Regions from separate parts of the Homo sapiens genome. Here regions 1, 2 and 4 are each linked to region 3. The links are contacts of gene promoters, found by promoter capture Hi-C in blood cells and fetal thymus (Javierre and others, 2016). All regions are on one chromosome and are shown on one strand. Each heading gives the region's core, a stretch centred on a gene start or on the middle of the fragment in contact. The rest is flanking DNA. Distances are from core to core; before and after follow the strand shown.

Region 1 (4,141 bases), core at 396-2,895, 620 kb after region 3:
GGATATACACCTTTTACAGTAAGTGCTCACTCTGCCTATCAGATTTCATTTAAATTCATTCAGTAAGTCAGGGAGTCCCTGTATCAGTATTTCATTGCATTACATTGCCTTTCTAGTGCATTTTAGCATCCTCATAATAAAGCTAATTGTGAACTCATTACCACTAATTGCAAATTTGCTTTTATCCCACTTTATTGAAATATTTTAATAAGTTTATGCCAATAATTTTATAACCTAATATTCATGTACTTTATCTGTTAATCACTATAACCTGAATTAATCTAGCTACATATCTGATTTATTTAATATTGTTTAGTGATCCCAGAGGGGTTACAACATATTTCAGAATCTTATGTGCATGAGTTTTCACTTTTCTTAGAATTTTACAGTAAGATTTTGGCTTTCTGTGTTTAATTTTTAAAATAACATTTAAAAGAAAATTTTGAGGTTGCCAAACCCCTTGCTTATCACATAGAATTGCTGACTTCTAAACAGTGCATGTATGGCTTCTCATTTGCTGAGTTCTTCACTATAATAGAAATGTTGCAAATATGATCACTACCACCCCCAAAATACATTTCCATCCTCACCCTTGAAGACTTTGAGATGCAAGTTTCACCTATCATTGCACTGGTATAATTTTAAGTTGCTCTCTGTATTACAAAAATTGTTTTAACTAGAATGAATAAACTTTGCCCCAATTCTGACTGCTGATCTCATTATTCAATTGCAGAGTTAGATTCACACATCTAACCCTTTACTTTCTTGGCTAAATATACTTAACCTTTATTAACTGTCATAAAGCATGGTTATTATGAAACATAAACGCAAGTGGATTGTACTGAAATGAACTTTGAGGAGTCCTGTGTAGGAGCTTATTGAATGTGTTTTTCAAAATCTAAGCAGCTGAAATGAGGTACACGATTTCAGGTCTCCATTTTTTTCACTAATTTCAAATACACTGCCATCAATAAGCATAGCAAAAGGCAGATCACAAGTGATACAATGTATTTTCTTAACCAAAATGGAACTCCACTGTTAACAATAAGGCAAATTATTTTGTCCTTTGAGAAAAAGTCAGGAGAGCAAATACTGTCATGTAAGAGTCTTTGAGGGGTAAAATCTGGTAATAAGTCTAACTGAAGCTCCACATCCTAAATGGGATTGATATATAAATATTTAAGGAGTGAATTTATTTAATTAATCTTAAGCAATCCACATCTCTCCAATCTTTACATTTGGGGCAACCTTGACTTTTGATCTATGTCTTTTAAAAGCTTCTGATAGAACTAGATATTATCAGCATAGAGAGCAGTTGTACATCCATTACTAGTAGGAATTATCTATCCCTTAAGCTAATGATCTTTAGCATCTTTGTTAATAGCCCTGAATAGGGAGTATAACCCACTAATGCATTTTTGTAGATTATCTAAAGGTAGGAGTTTCAGTGTATACCAGTTTAAACCAGAAAACTGTTCTAATTGACCTTGAAAGGTTAAAAGAATAAACAGGAAAAAAAAGTTTAAAAATATGAACCTCTGAAAACTAATAAAAAAATGAGGATTATTCATATAAATATGAAATTGACAACAACAACTTGGAAAAGCATATACAGAATATTATCCATAGCTGTTTTAGAACAAGACAGAAGTTTAAGTATAATGCTCATTTTAAAACTGGTGCTAATTTAAATTGTATCTATATGATTGTTTTTAACTTAGGAAAGCAATTACGTTTTTTATATAATTGAGAAGTTAAATCTTTTATCGGTTGAAATTGACTTAATCTAATAAACCTCAGGTTATTTTTATTCCTGATTTTTTAATTCCTAGAAACCAAGCCAGGCAATGGATGGTCTCTTCAACAAACGGCACTGGGAAAACTAAATATCTACATGTAAAAGAATAAAGTTGGGTCTTTACCTTATACCACATACAAAAATTACTCAAAATGAATCAAAGACCTAAATGTTAAGAGTAAAGGCTACCAAACGCTTAGAAAAAAACATAGGAGGAAGCTTCATAACATTGGATTTAGCAGATTTCTTGAATATGATATCAAAAGCATAGGTAACAAAGGAAAAACTATATTATTTGGACTTGTCAAAATTAAAAACTATTGTGAATCAAAGGGCATTTTCAATGAGCAAAAATGCAACCCACAGAATAGGAAAAGATATTTGCAAATCTTACCTCTGATAAAAAATTAATATTCAGAATATATAAAGAACTACTACAACTCAAAATGAAGAAAACAACCTGATTTTAAAATGGCCAAAGAACTTGAATAGACATTTCTCCAAAAAGATAAACAAATGACCAGTAAGCCCAGGAAAGATGCCAAATATCACTAATCATTAGGGAAATGAAAATCAGAACCACAATGAGATAACACTTCACACCCACTAGAATGGTGATTAAAAACAAACAAACAACAACAACAACAAAAAAAACACCAAAACCAGAAAATATCAAGTATTGACAAGGATGTGCAGAAATTGAAACTCTTATGCACTGTTGGTTGGGATTTAAAATGGTGTAGCTTCTGTGGAAAACAGTATGGAGGTTTCTCAAAAAATTAAATATAGAATTAACACGTGATCCAGTAAATCTACTTTTGAGTTCACCTTCAAAATAATTGAAAGCAGAGACTCAAGAAGCAGATATTTGTGCCATGTTCATAGCAGCTTTATTCACAATAGGAAAAAAAGGCAGGAACAACCAAAATGTTCATCAACTGATGATTCAATAAACACAATGCAATATATTCCTACTGTGATGGTTAATTCTTTTTTTTTTAACCATCGACATAATCACTTTATTAGATTATATAGCAATTAAGGGCTTTTTCATAGTTACTAAAGAGCACTGTCAATTACATATAAAATATTTTAAGGGTTATGATATCACATAAAGATTTTATCAATTTTTTTGTTTTTATTTTTATTACTTTATTTTATTTTTATTTTTATTATACCTTAAGTTCTAGGGTACATGTGCACAACGTGCAGGTTTGTTACATATGTATGCATGTGCCGTGTTGGTTTGCTGCACCCATTAACTTGTCATTTACATTAGGTATTTCTCCTAATGCTATCCCTCACCCATCCCTCATCCCCCAAACCCACAAAAGGTCCCGGTGTGTGATGGTCCCTGCCCTGTGTCCAAGTGTTGTCATTGTTCAGTTTCCACCTATGAGTGAGAACATGCGGTGTTTGGTTTTCTGTCCTTGCAATAGTTTGCTCAGAATGATGGTTTCCAGCTTCATCCATGTCCCTACAAAGGACATGAAATCATCCTTTTTTATGGCTGCATAGTATTCCATGGTGTATATGTGCCACATTTTCTTAATCCAGTCTATCATTGATGGACATTTGGGTTGGTTCCAAGCCTTTGCTATTGTGAATAGTGCTGCAATAAACATACTTGTGCATGTCTTTATAGCAGCATGATTTATAATCCTTTGGGTATATACCCAGTAATGGGATGGCTGGGTCAAATGGTATTTCCAGTTCTAGATCCTTGAGGAATCACCACACTGTCTTCCACAATGGTTGAACTAGTTTACACTCCCACCATCAGTGTAAAAGCGTTCCTATTTCTCCACATCCTCTCCAGCACCTCTTTCCTGACTTTTTAATGATCGCCATTCTAACTGGTGTGAGATGATATCTCATTGTGGTTTTGATTTGCATTTCTCTGATGACCAGTGATGATGAGCATTTTTTTATGTGTCTGTTGGCTGCATAAATGTCTTCTTTTGAAAAGTGTCTGTTCATATCCTTTGCCCACTTGTTGATGGGGTTGTTTGATTTTTTCTTGTAAATTTGTTTAAGTTCTTTGTAGACCACTTTTGACGGGTGATGGTTAATTCTATGTGTCAACTTGGAGAATGTTTGGGGATGAAATTAACATTTAAATTGGTAAACTCTGAGTTGGCAGATTGCCTTCCATAATGGGGGTTTGTCTTATCCAACCAGCTGATGTCCTGAATAAAACAAAAAGAATGACCTTCTGGAGCAAGAGGCAGTTCTCCAGCAGACTACTTTCGGAGTTCATGCATACCATCAGCTCCCCTGTCTCTCCACCTGCTGGCCTTGGGGTGGAAACGACACCATTAGCTCTTGGGTTTCAAGCATGCT
Region 2 (4,533 bases), core at 1,901-4,400, 570 kb before region 3:
TTTGTCCTCTGTGAAATAGACTCACAGCCTCCGTCTATGTGCTTCTCCATCTACGATGCCTGTGTAATTGTTTCATAAATGCTTTTGGAAAATGATTTGTTTCCATTGCAAATGCACCATGATTCACTTTTGCCTTTCTATCTGTGGATTTAAAATGGATCTGCACTCCCCCTGCCAAAACCCCAGGAAGGCAAATGTAAACAGTGTACCTGCTTAGGGGTCCCACTATCTTTGAGAATAAAATTATCAGCATCCTTTCTCTTCCTTAGACTATCTTCAAAAGCTGAGGCCTGTTGTACTACTTCCTGGGCTGGTTTCTGTTCAGCAGCATATTTGATAGGGAACTGTGATTTGAATGATTCTATCAGTTCCCCAGCAAAGCAAGCCTCATTCTTGTCACTCCTCATTCTTATTTGGAAGTCTATAGAGGACACACACAGTCACATTCCCCTTTACTGTATAATGTTCCAATCAGCAGCCAGCATAATGAAATCCAATTCATATGTTAGGCTGTTGTGGTTCTAAAAATATTTCACATCCCCCTGAGGGGCTAAGGAAATTGGAGGAATCAAGGTATTACCGCAAACCTGTCATTTGCAGAAAAGTTCTTCAATCATTTTTGGAGGTGGTAGATTTGTTCTTAAGAAAACAAAAATAGATCAGCTCTCCAAAATGAGGCTGCGTGTGAGATCGTTCCACTGAACCTTTACTCAGATGCCAGGCCCTGCGTGCAAGTCTAATGATCCCTCACTTCAGATATATATGAATTATTAAGGTCAGTTAATTAACACATTTTTCTTCTGCTGAAGTAATTAGATGAATAGAGCTCTTGCCCTCTTTTTGGCTTTCCTGGCAGTTGCTCAGGGCTGAATAGAGGCAGTAAACATATTGCCAAACAGATGCTAACCAGAGAAGTAATTTTTCAGTTTCCATTTGATTTCTGAAGTGTTATCCTGCAACTGAAATAAGCTCCTACTTGGGGATGGTAGGGGAGGGCAATGCGGAAAAAGAGAGAATGAGGTGAAGAATGGGCAACAAGCCCCCACACAAATCTGCCTGAGAGCCTCTGCTAGATACCCAATGTTCATGTGTCATTCCACCTAATTTTTTTAATACTTCCTTCACAACATCTCTATGTCATTTGTACAAAAGTTATCCAAAGGGAATATTTATTACAGCTGTTTGCATGAATATTCCCAGGCCATTTCCTTTCTGTCCCTGGTGTGGCCACAACATTTTAAGTGGCCAGAAATTAGGATTTGGTACGTTTAAAGTGGTTTGTCTGTAATACGTGTCTCTTGATTTTTCTAGGTCAGTGGTTCCCCAGACTGCCTTTGTACTAGAATCATCTAGGGGCACCTAAGAAAGAACACCTTCCCAGCCTTTACCTAAGATTGATGATCTCAGCATCTCTGGGGACTGGCCTGGAAATAGGAGTTTAAAACATCTCTCAGGGTAAATCTGATGCTCAGTCAGAGTGTGGGAGGTGCTGTTCTTCGTAATGGAGATGGAAGTGTCGACACTCAGGAGCTCTCCTTCTCTTTGCAGACAGGTGAACTGTGATCATTCTATACCCTGGGCCTAATGGCCAGTCCAGGGAAGCCTCCTGAGTTGGTCCAGTCAAACACACGAAATGGCATTGATGGCTTGGTCTGTGGGTGTGATATGCATTACTCAGGATCGCTTGATGTTTTTGTCTCCAGGGCCTCTGCTGGAGCAACCAGCATTTTATGAAAATTGCCTTCTGTGGGAAGTCTGGCCGAGGAGGCAGTGTCCCACAGAAGAGAAAGATAAAGACATAGGTAGCAACTTTCAGACTTCCAAGAGCTCCAGTTTTTTCACCTGTGAAACAGGTTTAATCATAACCCATGCAGCTGTAAGGCAGGAACAAGGTGATGTGTGTGTGAGTCCTAAGTAAGTTTTAAAGTACTGTATTCATGGAAGGATGATGATGATGGTGATACTGATTTCAGCAAAACTCTGATAGAGATAAAGGAGTATAATGGAGGGTTGGAGAAGAAGGGATAGAAATTGTGCTGTCCTTAAGGGTGGGGCAGGTGGCCTAGCAGCGTCATGCCTGAAACACAGTCAATAAATGTTTCCTTGCTGAACGCTGCCTGGCTGAAATTCTGTGTGATTCCCCTGGTATGTCTTTCCCATATTTAGTAAAATGTAATGATCACTTTTCCTGGTTTTAGCAACATTTTGCTTTCAAAAATATCATGGATGCAAGGAAGTTCCCTCACAGTGATTTGCCATAGCTCCACACCTCCCGGGAATGGTCCTGGAGACAGGCCTGTGCATCGAGGCACGTGGAGTGGGCTGGTCTATAGCACCCACCTTAGGAACCTGGGGACTTCATGAGGGGCCCGACTGCATGACAACTTGCTAGAATTCCCAAGAAAAATGATGGAGGAAGCATTATGATCGGTGGTAGGGCTCACAGACAGTAAAGATTAGAAGCCACGATCAAAAGAGGGGATGAAAACGGCTCCAGTTGAACTCTTTTTGAAATGGCAGAGTTGAGGCACATGGGCTCTATAGCTGGGATCCTGGGTCACATTCGTTGACAGTTGGGAGGGATAGCAGGACCTAAGTGCTTTATATGCATTATCTCACTTAATTCTTATAACAGCTCTAAAGCAATAGTATAATAAGAGGGGCACAATCCCTTATTTACAATTTGGAAACCCAAAAATCTTTGAAAGCCTCAAGCTTTTCATAATTCATTTGAATGTGAAATGAACCTGACCTGAAATCTTTTGACAGCAAAACCTAACTAGAACTTATGTGAGACTTTTTCTAGTTTTGATTTATCCCACCTGTTGTAAATATTCATGTTTTGCTGCAGAAATATTAATGAATTTGATTATAGAGGAGTGCATCAGAGCTCACTGGGTGTGTTACATAATACATGGCATATACACCATGCTACTGTTCTATCATCCAGAAATCTGAATTCTGAAAACACGTCTGACCTCCTCCCAGAGTTTGGGAATAGGGATTTTCATTCTGTTTCTCCACTTTCACAGAAAAAAAATGAAGCTTAAATCAGTGAAGTATTAGGTTGGTGCAAAATTGCAGTTTTTGCCATTACTTTCAATGGCAAAAATCGCAATTACTTTTGCATCAACCTAATAATTTGCCTAGGGTCACAAAGCTGCTAAGTTGGGAACTATGGTTGTGCCCCAAGTCTGTTGTGAGATATTCTGCTAAGAGTTGCTGTTTCTTCCTTGGTTTTGAATCCCTTTCCCAAAAGCTTTCCTTTTTGTTGTCCTGGTTTGTGTGGCAGGCTCCAGGAGGAGGTATGTGTGTGTGTGCATCGTGGGAAGTAGAGTCAGGTCTTCCTGCTTAGCTACCCATACTCAGGCTGCCTTGTTCTGTAAATACCTTGCGTTTTTCCTAAAACACAAGTCTGATCATTCCACTCACCTGCTTAAAAGCTTTTAGTGTACTATTCATAATAGCAAAGATAAGGAATTAACCTAAATGCCCTACAACAGTAGACTGGATAAAGGAAAGGTGGTACATATACACCAAGGAATACCATGAAACTACAAAAAAGAGCGAGATCATGTTCTTTGCAGCAACATGGATAGAGCTGGAGAGCATTATCCTTAGCAAACTAACACAGGAACAGAAAACCAAATACCACACGTTCTTACTTGTAAGTGGGAAGTAAACATTGAGTACACATGGACATAAACAAGGAAACAACAGATACCAGGGTCTATTTGAGGGTGGAGGATGGGAAGAGGGTGAGGATCGAAAAACTACCTGCTGGGTACTATGCTGATTACCTGGGTGACGAAATCATCTGCACACCAAAACCCCATGACACACAATTTATATAACAAACTTGCACATGTACTCCTGAACTTAAAAGTTAAAAAACAAAACAAAACCCTTTTAGCACTGCTAGAAGGTCAAGTCCAAACTCCTTAGAATGGAATATAAAGACGCCCTGCACTGGTTCCCAACTGGCTGTAGTAGCATGGGTGGTTAAAAGTATGGACTCTAGAGCTGTATCGCAGGGTAAAACCTTTCTTCTGCTGCCCCCTAGGTGTTTGTATCCCAGGCAAGTCTTCTCTCTGCCTTAATGTTTTATTTTTTATGTTATGTTTTTTGAGGTAGAGTCTCGCTCTTTTGCCCAGGCTGGAGTGCAGTGGCACAATCTCGGCTCATTGTAACCTCTGCCTCCTGGGTTCAAGCGATTCTCCTGCCTCAGCCTCCAGAGTAGCTGGGACTACAGGCGCCTGCCACCACACCCGGCTGATTATTGTATTTTTAGTAGAGACGGGGTTTCACCATGCTGGCCAGGCTGGTCTTAAACTCCTGACCTCAGGTGATCCACCCGCCTCAGTTTCCCAAAGTGCTGGGATTACAGGTGTGAGCCACCACACCCAGCCTGCCTTAGTGTTTTATCATGTAAGGCTGATTTAGTCATCCACTTCCTAGTGTTGTAATGAGGCATGAATGAGTTAATACAATGTAAAATGGTTAGAACAACCTACACAGTAGGCACTCAAATGA
Region 3 (4,104 bases), core at 1,163-3,662:
AAACCCCCAGAAAGGCAATCACTTTGCAAGTCAGAGTCCCATAAGTCCAGGTAGAACCATTTTTGACAGAGTTGAACACAAATGGGAAACAAATTGCAGATCTGAGGATATCTGAACAGCAAAGATCCAACAGGAAGTAGTAAGGTGCTCTATGCAAGGTCTTATCTTTCACTAGCAAAATGGAGATCAGGAGGTTGCCCACCACGCTGACTCCTATTATGAAACCCAAGGAAGTCAGTTTCAGAAAGGCTGTTAGAGGCGAGAGATTTTGCAAAATGTTGTCAGCTGCATGGCTATAGTTCGCCATAGATGGATGGAGGATAAGGATACAGCCTCAGTCAAGTCTCATGATCTAGATATAAGAACAAGGAAAAGATAGATCCATACATTTTACTGAAAATATAATCCACAAAGAGAACTGATCTGATCTGCAGTCATGCTTCCTCTTTTCTTCCACTTGTTTTGCCATCAGAATATCTGAAAAAAAAAAAAAAAAAAACCTATCAGTTCTTAAGTTAACAAGCAATGATGTCAGACAGTGCTAACAAAGCTGTTCACTTATGGGGAAGCAAATAAAGTTTTAATTTTGAATACTAATATTTGCTTTACTAAATATTTTTGCTCGAGATTTCAGAGAATTGGCTTGTTTAGTTTTTCAAGCTAAGTGAATTTTAAAATGTCCCTATTTTGGACAATATACATTTGATAGGGTAACTTTAGGAGAGAAGGAATAAAATGTCCCATTCTTGTAAAATATGCCAGTCCAGGAATTAACCACTAGAATTGCAATGGAATCTACAAGATTGCTATTAGGAGGCAGAGACACTACCTACATTTATTTGAGATCTATTAGTATCTGTCAGTGTTTCACAGGCAGCTTCTCTGTTTGATGTGGGTCCAAAGAACCCGTGCAAAATATATCTTAAGTGCCACTATTCATGCTGCATAAGAGTATTTGTTGATTCATCTTAAAGCAAAATTTCAAAATTAACTTCAAAATTAATAGGAACTTACTTGTCCCAAGATTTGATGTGATTTAATCATTTGTCTTTCCCTCTCCACCCTACCCCCCATTTCTGGCAAATCTTTTAAGCCCACATGATTATTAAAATGGTTAATGTAAATATTGGACAGGGAAACACACCCAGAGGAATAATGCACTTCCATTTGTAAACCTTGGCTGCCTGGATTCAAATGAATATAACATGAACCTGTATTTCTTGGGCAATTAAGCCTTTCCCATTTACACTGATAACCTTTGTTGCAAATCACAAGTGGCTGCTTTTTAAAACAAAATGCACATTGTCTCGCAGGTGCCTGGACCACACCAGGGAAATCGGCTTCCTCTGTTATTCCCACCAAGCGTGTTTCTTTTGCCACTTCTCACTGGCCCGGAATATGCTGGTGGAAGCCCAGGCAAAACTGCGTTCGATGATTTTAATTTCCCCACCGGTACATCCTCGGGTAAATACCGATCGCATCATGCAACATTACGAAACCTGAAATCCGCCACCCCTGGATTTATAATGGGGGGAGGGTGGAGGAGGGGGAGAGGGAGAGAGACATGCATTACATACGCGAAGATGGGGAGAGAGATTGCTTCTGTGCTGCAAAGGAACCGTTCCCGGTGATTCGCAGTCTGATATTCCTCAGTCTTGTAAGGCTTTCCAGAAATGGAGCTCTCAGTAAGCCCTACTGAAGATGCATTGTCTGAATGTACTTCCATTATGCAGTTTATTGTCACAAAACACATACACACACACACACACACACACACACAGAGACACACACACACACACACACACACACAACCTGAGGGAGGGCTCTTTCTCGGTGAACCTGCAGTTTCATCAACACTGTGCATTCCCCCACATCCCCCAAACTTAACCAAGAGTATATCCTCCTACCTGTTGGTGTTGGATATCCCGACAGACTATAGCTTCTTTCTATAAATTGCTGATTTTTTTCTTTTTTTCTTTTTCTTTTTTTTTTTTTTTTTTTTGTTTTTTGTTTTTTTTTTTTTTTTTTTTGCCTTAGTGCCTTGACTGAGCATCCAGGCAGGGCTCGGCGGCGCCTGCGCGCTGGAGCCTCCTTGAGCTCCAGCCGCGTCCTCCCCTGTCGCAGCGGCACCGTCTCCCCCAGTAACGCAGGGGCCGCGGCGGCGGCGGCTGCGGTGGCGAGGGCGGCGGCGGGGCTGCTTCAGCCTCTGTGGAACCAGCAGGAACCCCTACCTGACTCCAGAGCTGGCTGGGTTTATTGACTGCCCTGTCCAATCCAACTGGCAGCATTAAGCTTTTGTCCCTTCGTGGCTGCTTCTGAACTTTTCCCTCCCCGCATTTGTAGTGGGGGGCTGGAAAGGCCCTTTCAGGACCTCAGGCCCATCCTCTTCCCAAAGGCAGCGCACGAGGAAGTCACAGTGCCCGTGACGCCCGCCCCCTCCCTCAGCTTCCCGGAACCCTAACCTTCCCCAGACACTTTCTTCCCTTTTCTTTTAGGGTGGTCCAAACCACCGGAGGCTTCTTTTATATATTTATTTTTAAGTGATGTCTCCAGCTAACCTTTAAATTTGCAGGTTAGCTGGAAAAAGACAAGAAAAGAATGGGAAAAAAGAAAAAAAGTTATTTATTTATTTATTTATCTTTTTCCCACAGTTAAAAATCTTTTCAATGGGGAAGAAGGGAAGGCACGTTAGGGCAGCTCTCTCTTTGTTAGTCATCTTCTATTCTCCAATGCACGCAAATATGCGTAAAAGTAGGGAGAAAGCTAAGTTCAGAGGACAACTACAATATGATTTACATTCAGTCTACCTTAAAGGATGTCACTAAAGAATCAGGCTTATAAAATGTTTAAATGGCTATTCCTGGCATTCCACCCCACCAAGCAACAGTATTCCTTTTCCCTTCTTACAAGTTCCGCTGACCAATGATGGGTGATGTCAAAGCAGTTATGTGTACGAGTTTCCTTTTTTCCCCTTTGTTATTACAGATGAAAAATACTAGAAATATAACAAATACGTAAAACTTACACCAGTCCAAACGGTCGGATGATACCACAGACACCACAAAGCCTGACACGTGGGTGCTTAGGAATGCCTCTAGAATCATGCATTTTCTTATTTTACCATTTCCGAAGAGTTTTGTTTGTGGAGGTGATATAAAATTTTAAGCAACAACTTCCCAGTTCTCCTACCCAAAACTAGCAGACACGCTTTCATTAATTCCCAATGTAAAACGTCTGCTTCTTTTTCTGCATGCTTTTTGCTTTATAATAATCTGTTAATGAAACAAAAAATAAAAATCTTCTCTACAGTAATAATCTGATCTTGAGACAGCAGTAAAATACCTCATTGCTGGGTGGTGAGATTGTGACATTCAGGGGAACTCAGGCCAATCAGCATACAGATAATATGGGTTAATTTACATACTGTATTTCTATTGGATGAGCCGAGGTAAAGCCTTATCTTGATGTCACAGTCGTTACACAAAGCCCTATGTTGGTAATACTGAAATGATGTTAAATTTCCCTGATTTGTTCTTGAATTTCCTACGTCCATTTAAATACATGGATAATAGTTTGTTTTTTTCGAAAAGAATATACACAAGGCACTAAACTTTGGCATTCCCTTAACCTAGAAAAATCAATCCTACAGCCATGCTGGAAGTAACTTGAGGGCATTTCCATTCAAATAAAACATTCCACTTTTTGCAAAGCAAATGAATTCAAAACTCAAAACCATGTGGTGGTTTGCAACTTCTAAGTAAAATGTCAAATTCGTTTTTATGAAACTACAAATCACTTCAACTTGTGCTTTTTTGCTTCCCAATAAATGCTTCAATGTACTTTGCAAAGAGTTATTTCCTGAATTTTTACAGTTTTAAAAAATGTATGGAATAAGAGGCTTAAGTTTGCTGAAGATTCATGATTGGTCAGATGTTAGGTTGTACAGATTAGGGAAAAGCTATTTTAAAGTAAATTAAAAGAGTCACTGCACTGCCAGGCCATGAAGCAGTAATATACTCTGCCAAAAGTTATAGGGCCAAGATCCAAGGGTTTTAACTAGTCTTATTCTTTAAGCAGATATTGATTCCTTAAAAATAAGGGAGA
Region 4 (4,333 bases), core at 550-3,049, 520 kb before region 3:
ATTGAATGATCTCCTACATCTCCTTTTCCCACCTTCAAATTATTTCTTTCTAGAACTATAGTTCAAAGTATCATTCTAGTTCAGAAAAGCTTTATTTCAAACTGAATGAATTTGGTCAGGAAAGCTTTATGTTGAATTGGAAAAGCTTCCTAAATTTGAGGCAAGCTACTCTATAGGAAATTGAGGTTCTTTTGATGCTGTTATATCTGCAGGTCATATATTTCATTATTTTACATCTGAAATATATCTTCCAATGATGATAGTTTCTCTCCTAAAAGGAGATAGGATCTTTATTGTGTGTGATTTATTTGGGGGTAATTTTTTTGTTTGATACACATATATCAGAAGGAGACCTGGATTTTCTCATTTAATCACTGAATATTTCACTTTTTGATATTCACTGATTCAAGCCCTTTGGCTCTCTGGGTATGAGGGAAGAAACCCACTGTGTCAGAAGTAATATAAATTGCATTCTAACTTTTTCAGTTCCACCTTCTCTTACCTTAAAGGGAAGACCACCAAACTCTCTGAATTTTTTTTTTTTTTTTTGAGATGGAGTTCTCGCTCTGTTGCCCAGGCTGGAGTGCAGTGGCGTGATCTCGGCTCACTGCAAGCTCTACCTCCTGGGTTCACCCCATTCTCCTGCCTCAGTCTCCTGAGTAGCTGGGACTACAGGTGTCCGCCACAACACGCAGCTAATTTTTTTGTATTTTTAGTAGAGACGGGGTTTCACCGTCTTAGCCAGAATGGTCTTGATCTCCTGACCTCATGATCTGCCTGCCTCAGCCTCCCAAAGTGCTGGGATTACAGGTGTGAGCCACCGCGCCCGGCCCAAACTCCCTGAATTTTAACACAGAAATCTTTCTTCTGGGCCCTCAACAACATCCTTACCATATAAAGGCACAAACTGCTCAGATATTTTGTATTTGTATTTTCACATATTTCTCAACTCTATTTTGTGTACACTCATCATGGAGTTACTTATTTTGGGAATTGAGTATCCTATGAAATTCATTATCAAGTTTATTATAGAAATATTTTATCTTTGCTGGTTTTTTTTAGAATTACAAAAGTTAAAAAATTTTTTTCCATATGTTTTGCTTACACAATAAGGATATTTGTGTTATGTCTACATAAAAAAGAAACGAGTTGTTAAAAAGAGGGAAAATAGTCATTATGGTGGTTGATTTATCTATATGCCACTAAACAATTGGTTTGGCAGACTTCTCTTAATTGATTCAATTATCATTATAAAATATGGTCTTAATATCTACTTGATAATTAATTTCCGACTCAAAACCCCACCTTCCCTGCCTTTAGAAATCTGCTAATAGAAATGAAGTTTCAAAAATAAGTATCAGTGAAATTGAAGAATCTGGAGTCCAGATGAAGGAAATAGAGCCAGTTCATGTAATGAAGTTCTAATTCATTCAGCTTTAAGACTATACAAAATTTGGGTTCCTCAATTCTTTTTTTTTTTTTTTTTTTTTTTTGAGACACAGTTTCACTCTCGTTGCCCAGGTTGGGGTGCAGTGGTGTGATCTCAGCTCACTGCAACCTCCACCTCCCGTGTTCAAGTGATTCTCCTGCCTCAGCCTCCCAAGTAGCTGGGATTACAGGCATGCACCAACATACCTGGCTAATTTTGTATTTTTAGTAGAGATGGGGTTTCACCATGTTGGCCATGCTGGTCTTGAACTCCTGACCTCAGATGATCCATCTGCCTTGGCCTCCCAAGTGCTGGCATTACAGGCATAAGCCACCATGCCCACCCTTGAATTCTTAAGAATATGATTTAGACTTGGATCTGGTAGTAAATACCCATATTTACATTTATCATCTATAATTATTATTCCATTAGAGCAGGCGAGATCTGCATTTTAATCATGATGGATAAAGAATGAGAAGTGAGATAACATCTGAATACATTTAGTGAACTGTAGTTTCTATCTAACTTTTAGTAACAATTGTTATTGTCTTAACTACCTCTGAAAGTCAGGCTAACTCTCCAATGCTAATGTAAGAAGCATGCAGTCTGTGGCAGGCTGTATCAGTTAGGATCCAGACAGGAAATAAATGGCCCACTTAAACCGAGTAACAGAAAGAGTTCAATGAAAGGACCATTTACAAAGATGTAGGCAGGGTAGGCAAGGTCAAAAGGAACTTGTAAGGAATGATAAAGCTAGCAACGGAAGGGAGTCATTACCTCCTAGATCTGAGGCCGCAAGAGAAGGAAGTAGAACTGATATATACATATATGAGAGATGGAAGACACACACACACACAGGCAGAGAGAGAGAGAGGCTATAGCAGAATTGATCTGATGGGGGTTGTGGCCTTTGGTAGAAGAAAAGAGCCAAACAATAGCCAGAGAAAAAGATACCCTAGTCTCGCCTCCTCTTCTTCACTTGGATCTACTAGTGCCTCCCATTGGCTGAACTCAGCTGTAAGCCAGAGGGCAGCACTGCTCATGATGCAATTAATCAACAAACCAGTCCCTAGGCACAGAGCAGAGAAGAGCAGGGTGGAGAATAAATTTGTTCTGGAAGAGCAAGTGAAATACATCCAGTGTCCAGGCTAAGACTGATATCTATATCATCCCTCAATTCACCAGGGGTTAATTAACTTTTATTGGTCCAGATATTGACATCACTCCTTCCCTTGAATGCCACCTGTTACTTCCTTATTGACAAATCAAATACTTCTGTCACTTTCAAACTTTCCTTTCTTTTTATTGTATATCTTGGATGATCTCTTCCATTTCTTTTTCCCACACCAAATTATTAATTTCTAGAACTATAGCTCAGACCTTCAGTCCAGAAAAGCTCCACCTTGAACTGGATGAGCTTGGCTTGTTAAATTTGGAGTAAGCCACCTAACAGGAAGTTGAGGTTCTATCTGATGCTGCCCCACAAAAGAATATGTAAAACTTACAAGAGATTGTTGCCCTGGGTGAACATTGAACCATGACTTCTAAAGTCTATAAATATTGTGAGTTGGAAGCCTGACAATATTGGCAACATGCCAAGGTACATAGTAGCTATCTTTATGGATCACTAGCTGCTGTACCAGTCTCACCTGAAAGTGATCAGATAAATGCGTTCTTTCATGTTATATGGGAAAAGAGAGAAAACAAAGAGTCATATATTTTTCTGAATTTACACAGGAACTGCTGTATCAAGCTGTTAGAAAATCTTGATGTCCTTAAAACACACCTTGTCACAGTATCCAGCCTTATTATTTTTGTCTTGATATGGTCAGAGCCCTTTGAATAACAGCCCTGAGAAAGTTTACCAACACACTTTACCACAGTGAGATTACCTTTAAGGGGACATAATTTGGCCCCTGCTTTCCTCTCTGATTTCATCTTTTACTATTCTCCCCAACACCTTTGTGCACATTTGCACACACAGACATACACACCCACAGACAGATACACTCCTCTCCACCATACTAAGCTTCTTTCTTAACTCTAGGTTCTGCACGAGCTGTTTCCACTGCCAGAAACACTTCCTCCTCCTAGTATTTTTCTCAACCTGCCACTTATTATATTGTATCACATTTGCTTATTAATGACTCTAGGTTTTGAATGCCATGAGAGCGGGGGCTATTTTTACTTCTTTGTCATTGAATCCTCAGGACTTTGTCTGGTGCCTGGCACATAATAGCTTCTCGTTAACTGTTGAATTCATTAGTGAATGAAGGAAATAGCAACAGGAAAAGTTTTATTCACCAGTGTTTATCCTAAGGTTAGCTCTGCTTAGGATGATCTCATTTGTGACTGGATGAGAAAACTGGCAAGTGTCTGAATAATTCACAAATGCAAGTTCAGCTCCTGAATAAGCAGTACAATAAGCAATGTGTTGTACTGAGAGAGCACCTAACTGGCTAGGCAATTGTGAGGAAACTGGTTGCTACTAGAGCTTCTCATATCAGATGCCCATCAGAATCCCTTCAAGTTACTAGTCCTAACTACTGAAACCAGACCTTCTGAATCCCAGGCCTTCTGCGTCAGCACCCTCCGTGGGGGATGGGTTCTGAGTCTGTGTTTTGTTATCTGCCCCCTCCATCCCCTAGGTGGTGGTTTTTGTGCATACGGGACTTGTGATCTTGCCATGGGAGTGAGTCATCAACAACCTTAAGTTTGTAAATTATATTTGCAAGTATTCAGTTTTATTTTTTAATTTTTTATGACTTGTAGGCTTTTCCCTAGGGAGATGTTTAATTTTCTTTCACTGTTTTGTGTTGCAGGGTCTTATTCACTTGATTAATTTTTAATTGGAGAATCACGCTATTTCCAGACTATGAGTAGAGAGAGCTTTGTACTGCTTTC

What was found. The method cuts DNA at HindIII sites, captures the fragments that hold promoters and counts their contacts. A CHiCAGO score of 5 or more calls a contact.
Region 1: a fragment that was not itself captured here is called in contact with the fragment with the promoter of GPR85 in region 3 in 1 of 17 cell types (endothelial precursors); the score reaches 5.9 in endothelial precursors.
Region 2: a fragment that was not itself captured here is called in contact with the fragment with the promoter of GPR85 in region 3 in 1 of 17 cell types (M1 macrophages); the score reaches 5.6 in M1 macrophages.
Region 4: a contact is called between a fragment that was not itself captured here and the fragment with the promoter of GPR85 in region 3, in 1 of 17 cell types (neutrophils). The highest score is 5.6, in neutrophils.

Annotation. Positions count from the first base shown.
Region 1 is chr7:113,701,081-113,705,221 of GRCh38, forward strand. No RefSeq gene overlaps it. Among named protein-coding and RNA genes, the nearest start is that of PPP1R3A, 220 kb to the right of the region's middle. The HindIII fragment of the contact is 740 bases long and covers 1,276-2,015 here.
Region 2 is chr7:112,512,151-112,516,683 of GRCh38, forward strand. No RefSeq gene overlaps it. Among named protein-coding and RNA genes, the nearest start is that of LSMEM1, 33 kb to the left of the region's middle. The HindIII fragment of the contact is 214 bases long and covers 3,044-3,257 here.
Region 3 is chr7:113,084,415-113,088,518 of GRCh38, forward strand. It overlaps GPR85 (G protein-coupled receptor 85), which reads right to left and starts at 2,413. Exons shown (of 3, transcript NM_001146267.2): 1 at 1,908-2,413; 2 at 1,578-1,695; 3 at 1-477. The coding sequence starts at 307. RefSeq lists a silencer at 2,099-2,158. The HindIII fragment of the contact is 6,967 bases long and covers 2,291-4,104 here.
Region 4 is chr7:112,569,879-112,574,211 of GRCh38, forward strand. No RefSeq gene overlaps it. Among named protein-coding and RNA genes, the nearest start is that of LINC03076, 46 kb to the right of the region's middle. The HindIII fragment of the contact is 3,313 bases long and covers 144-3,456 here.